2 separate regions of the Homo sapiens genome follow, and region 1 is linked to region 2. The links are contacts of gene promoters, found by promoter capture Hi-C in human tissues and cell types (Jung and others, 2019). All regions are on one chromosome and are shown on one strand. The core of a region is centred on a gene start or on the middle of the fragment in contact, and the rest is flanking DNA. Distances in the headings are between cores, read along the strand shown. Region 1 has its middle 21 kb from the start of LINC03095. Region 2 holds the start of KIAA0087 (KIAA0087 lncRNA).

Region 1 (2,700 bases), core at 17-2,516, 34 kb before region 2:
ACCCCTCAGAGTCCGTGTTGTAGAGAGAGGGTGCATGGGAGAACAACCTAACTCCTGACCCTGGTGTGACGTTCTGTCCATTGATTTGTTACTCTCATCCAAGCAGAACGACTCTTCTCATGTAGGTGCCATGCACAGTAGGAGGAGGAGAGGGTCTGGCTGATTAGGGTTCAAATCCTAGCTCTGCCCCTTTTTAATTTTGTGACATTGTTCAGTGTGATTCACTTCTCTGAGTCTCAGGTTCTTTCTCTTTCATACAAATTAGTAATAACACATCATTCAATGAGATGATATATATGGGGCATCTCAACTGTACAGTAGGTCTCAGGTGATAGCGATTTCTATTGTGAGGTAGATTCCAAGCCGCAGAGCCCCTCTCCCCGCAGTAAGCCTCCTCTGAACTGAGCTTGGGAACATGGGTGGGAGTGGGCCAGGCTGCCTACCTGCAGACACAATCCAGAGTAGCAATAATGAGAGCAAAGTCAAATTGACTTGGGTCTAGAGGGCCAACCCCTTCCTCTCTGAGGACCACCTCAAACACATAAGCAGTCCAGCCTCTATTCAGGAAGAATATGTGTGAATCACAGCCATCAGGCCCAGGCCTCTGCTGAGAGCAATAGAAACTAATCAAAATTATGGATCATTTTAATAAGAGGTCTTTTTGGAACCCCAAGGACAGTTATAGTTGGAATTGATTTAGGCTGGCCTGAGGATTGTAAAGAAAGTATGCCTGTGGTCTTTAAGTCCTAGAGCTTCCTTTGGGTAATTATAAAGAAATACAGCAGCACATAATTGCAGCTCTTCTTGATGCAGAGCACTAGGCTGTGTACCTGCAGACACACATCTGGGTCAATCCCCGGATGCAGACACACATCTGGGCCAGTTGAAGCCAGCAACTACACTCAGTGAAAGCTTGGTATAATGTGGCTTTCCTACTATATTAGATATTCTGTCCCCACACAAGGGCAATAAATGCATTCCTCAGCACAGATGCTATTTCAAATGCCATTTTGCTTTATCCAAATCAAATTCCTCAAAGCACCAGTTTTATTTTCTGACAATACAGCATGTGGACAAACAGCATTGCATCCAAATCTCAGCTCTTCCACATCCTAGTCACGTGACCAGTTTCCTTATCTGAGAAATGAGGATAATTATGGCAGGTACCTCAGGAGGGAGAAGGAAAATGAGCCAATGACTGACATATTTAGTCTAGCTCCTGGCACATAGTAAGTGTCCAAGAAAATGATAGAATGAATAGTAGCTGCTCATGTATGGCATACACAGATTATAATAGAAAGTATAAAGGGTAATTAAATCTCAGCTAAGCTAGATTTGCTTTAGGCTGAGGCATAACAAAGTTGATAAGAAGCCTATTGAAAGAACCATGGAAACAATGCTGGCCCACACAGCTGAGACCCCAGAGAAGTGGGAGAAGCCTAAGGAGTGTCACTTGTTCTTCCACTCACTTCTCTTTTGGTTTGAGTTTCTAAAGAATCAGTATTGATGGTGGAAAAGGTGAACGATTGACTTGGTGAAGCTATAAGAATGCAGGGAATGCCAAGGAAAAGTTTTATTTTTCTTTTCTTTTTTTTGAGATGGAGTCTTGCTCTGAGGCCCAGGCTGAAGTGCAATGGCGTGATCTCGGCTCACTGCAACCTCTGCCTCTCAGGTTCAAGCGATTCTCCTGCCTCAGCCTCCTGAGTAACTAGGTATACAGGCACCTGCCACCACACCTGGCTAATTTTTGTATTTTTAGTAGAGATGGGGTTTCACCATGTTGGCCAGGCTGGTCTCGAACTCCTGACCTCAGGTGATCCACCCGCCTCCAGCCTCCCAAAGTGCTGGGATTACAGGCATGAGCCACCGTGCCCGGACCGTTTTTCTTTTTTTAGTGATAAAAGTTATCATGCATATAAAAGGGTATATATTAAATTTTTGCTGGTTTAAAGGATAATAATCAAATGAGCACCTAGGTACCTACCACCCACTCAATAAAATATTGCCCACAACTCAGCCCTCCTGAGGGCCACCCTCATGTATTCTTTTCCCCCACTGCCCTGAGGAAATGCCGTTGTGTATTTTGTGTTAATCACTACCCTGCTTTACCTAAAGTTTTCTGCCTGTCCCTAAAAGATATGTCTGTAGATGTGCTGCTGTCATGCTCTTTTTGCCCAACATTGTGAAATTCATCCACATCGTTGTCTGTGGCCATATTCCTTGGTACAAATATAAAACAATTTATTCATGCAATCTACTGTTCATGGACACCTGTGTTGCTTCCAGTTCTTTGCTCCTACAAATATTCATACACATTCATGTATTGCATTTAGCTTGCAATAATTTTTCTAGGGTCCTTATGATGAACGGTTTTAGAATTTTACTGAATTCTTCACCTATTGAGATGATCATGAGGTTTTTCTCCTTTAATCTCTTAATGTGGCAAACTAAAGTAATAAATTTTTTTAATATTGAACCAACAGTGCATTTCTGGGATAAACCCTACTTGATCTCTTATTTGTTGGTAATTTTGGTTTACTTTTATTTTATTCAGTATTTTTGGATCTTGATCTGTTTTTGTCTACGTTTGGTATCACAAAATGAGTTTGAAAGGATTTCCTTCCTTCTTTCTTTTCCTTCCTCCCCCCCACCCCTTTCTTCCTGCCTTCCTCTCTTCTCTTAGTGTTTACTACACCTACA
Region 2 (2,700 bases), core at 100-2,599:
TTTGGAGGGAATTTCAATTTTGGTGCCTAGATTACAAACCATATTCAAGTCTTCTGAAGAACCATGGAAAAGGAGAACAACTTACAAATGCCACACACCTTTTGGGAGGCAACAAACTCCCTACGAGCAAGAGTATCCAAATAACGTCCCACCTCTCTGCAGGGCCACTAATGCTCCCGACACAGGGCAGACCTCCAAGTAGAGAAGCATCTCTGGAGAAATTAGAGCCTCCCCACAAGGAATATGAGGGCTCCGATCAGTGGCCACAAGGAACCCCTCCCTGCTGCCTCCACAGTGGCCCCACACTCTGTCTTCTCTGCTCCCATCTTACCCCAAGGCTGCAGGACCTTGGGATAGAAATCTTCTCCCCTAAGCAGCCCAGAGAATGCTCCTTAACCCAAGACAGTGGGTTCTCAGTACTACTTCCTCCTTCCTGCCTGGAAAAGTGCAAAAAGTATAGATATGCCCACAGTTCACTGGGCAAATAATGTACTGACCTCCGGGGGATCCTGGCCTTGAATGGACTAGATCTGCCTTCTCTGAAACACAACTGGTCATGGAGGGTACCCTGCGAACAGATGTTCATCACAGAATTATTTAAAAAGATGAAATGTTAGAAACCCAAATATCTAGCATCCAGGGGATTGGTTAAACATATTGTAATAATATCTTCCTGATGTATTCTACAATATTAATATCAATACAGTATCATAAGCATTCAGTGTCACTGTAGAGGTATTTAATTGAATGGGAAATATTCATAGTACATTATCAAATAAAAACGTTTAAAAGATATAGTAATTTCTTATCTTTGCAAAATAGATATGCATATCTATGCATAAACAAAAACATGGGAAGATGACACTAAAATGTTAATAGTGGTGAGTGATAGATGATAGATTTCTCTCTCTCTCTCTCTCTCCACCTCTCTCTTTGAAGCTGTATTTTACAAATTTCCTGAAATTCACCTGTATTACTTTTGATATAAGCAAAAATTATTTTAAAAGTGGTTATTTTTTAAAATATGGCATTAAGTCCAATTTAAAAGGTAGTGAGCAAATGTTGGGTCGGCTTCTGTAGTCTTAATTCTGGTATCCTTTCAGAGAGGGTCAGTACTCCACGTCTCATTCTTTGTTCTTTTGCAAAACTTTATTTGAAGGCTTTCATCAACTGGTCATTCGACATGCACTTAAACAGGAACCCAGGTAATAAATTCTGCCTTGAGTTTGTTCCAGGAAGCAGTGCGGCTTGACACAAAGGATGTGCATGCTTTATGTTGTCAGATGATATAAACTGTGTTGCCCCAGATTCTGCCTTTTGCCTTAGCTCAGAGCCACCTGGCTGTTTTAATCATCTCATCTCAGATGCCTGGCAACATCTAATTCCTCAGCTCCTTTTCAGTAATTTCAGTTCTATTTTCTTACTCTATCATTCTGGTGTTTTCATTGCATTTTCTTATAAAAGAGATCCAGATTTATTTTGGAAATAGATTTGAATGACGAAAACATCCTATAGAAGCAAATCCTAAACAAATATAAATATTTGACCATGATTATGCAAAGAAAGCTCCTGCTTCCTCCTCTGTGTCACAGAGACCCTCGGGAGGAACTCCAGGGAGAATGGAAGCTTGGGAGTCATCCCAACCCTTGCTCAGGTGCGAAATCCCCTGCCCTCTGCCTGGCACTGATAGGGACGGATCAGTTTCTCTGCCTGGAGAGGCAGCCTCCTGTGACCTGGATACATTGGAGCCTGAACACGGGAACAGAAGGTATCCTCCCTCCTTCCTTAGTGGTCTCCGGGTGCCCTTCTGGGGAGGATTGGCTCTTCTGGGCTTCTTCATGCATATGATTCCTAGTCATGGCTTCAGCCCCTTTAGTTCACTGGGTCCTTATTCCGTGTTTTCCTGTGCCCAGCTGTGAGGCTAGAAAACGGAGAGGAGAAGGAAGAAGGGGACAGGGATGGTGTGGTGGTTGGTAGAAGAGAAAGAAAGATACAGACAGACAGACAGACAGAGAAACAAAACAGACCCTCAGACACTGAACATGTTTAATTAAGCCGACTTTATCCAGTTGCAGTTGAAACCAGGGTGGAAATAATTGATGTTCCTTGTATTGTTTTAGGTGAAAATGGTAGAAATAAATGGAACTGTCAAGGTTGTAAACCTTCCCATCTTCATTACAAATAAAGAATTAAGAAATGAACAGTAGTAAACAGATAGGGGTTCCAAGATGTCTTTTTCTTCCCCCAAGGCAATGTCCCCCTGGAACTTAGCACCAAGGCACCCTGTTTTCTGTCCTGACGGTTACTCCATTTTCTCCTCCCTTGAAAAGGGTTGCCCAGAGCACCCCCAACCCACTCCAAGGCCAGACCTCTCCCAGCCTGAACTTCTTCATAGACCTGTTATCATCCCTCACTCACCTTCAAAGCCTCCCACTCACCAGTTCTTCTTCCTAGTCCTGGGAAAATTCCTTCTCCAGAAGCTGCCTGTGCATTCACCAATCTAGCCCCCTTAATGACCCTTTGAGGCAGACACTTTATCCCCATTTCACAGAGGTGGAAACTAAGCCTCGTAGAAGGTGAGTAACTCAACCCAGGTCACACAGCTCGAGCTAAGGTTCAGGCCACTCAGCTGACTCCAGTACTGTGTGCCACCCTGCTCCTCACTGCTTTCCTCTGAAACCTCAGGGATTGTCTGGCTCA

Evidence for each region. The method cuts DNA at HindIII sites, captures the fragments that hold promoters and counts their contacts. A contact is called where the count stands out against the background at its distance.
Region 1: a contact is called between a fragment that was not itself captured here and the fragment with the promoter of KIAA0087 in region 2, in 1 of the 25 tissues and cell types used here (neural progenitor cells).

What each region holds. Positions count from the first base shown.
Region 1 is chr7:26,571,191-26,573,890 of GRCh38, reverse strand. No RefSeq gene overlaps it. Among named protein-coding and RNA genes, the nearest start is that of LINC03095, 21 kb to the right of the region's middle. The HindIII fragment of the contact is 8,227 bases long and covers 1-2,700 here.
Region 2 is chr7:26,537,474-26,540,173 of GRCh38, reverse strand. It overlaps KIAA0087 (KIAA0087 lncRNA), which reads left to right and starts at 1,349. Exons shown (of 2, transcript NR_022006.1): 1 at 1,349-1,768. It overlaps LINC02981 (long intergenic non-protein coding RNA 2981), which reads right to left. Exons shown (of 5, transcript NR_148502.1): 5 at 1-1,921. The HindIII fragment of the contact is 4,605 bases long and covers 1-2,700 here.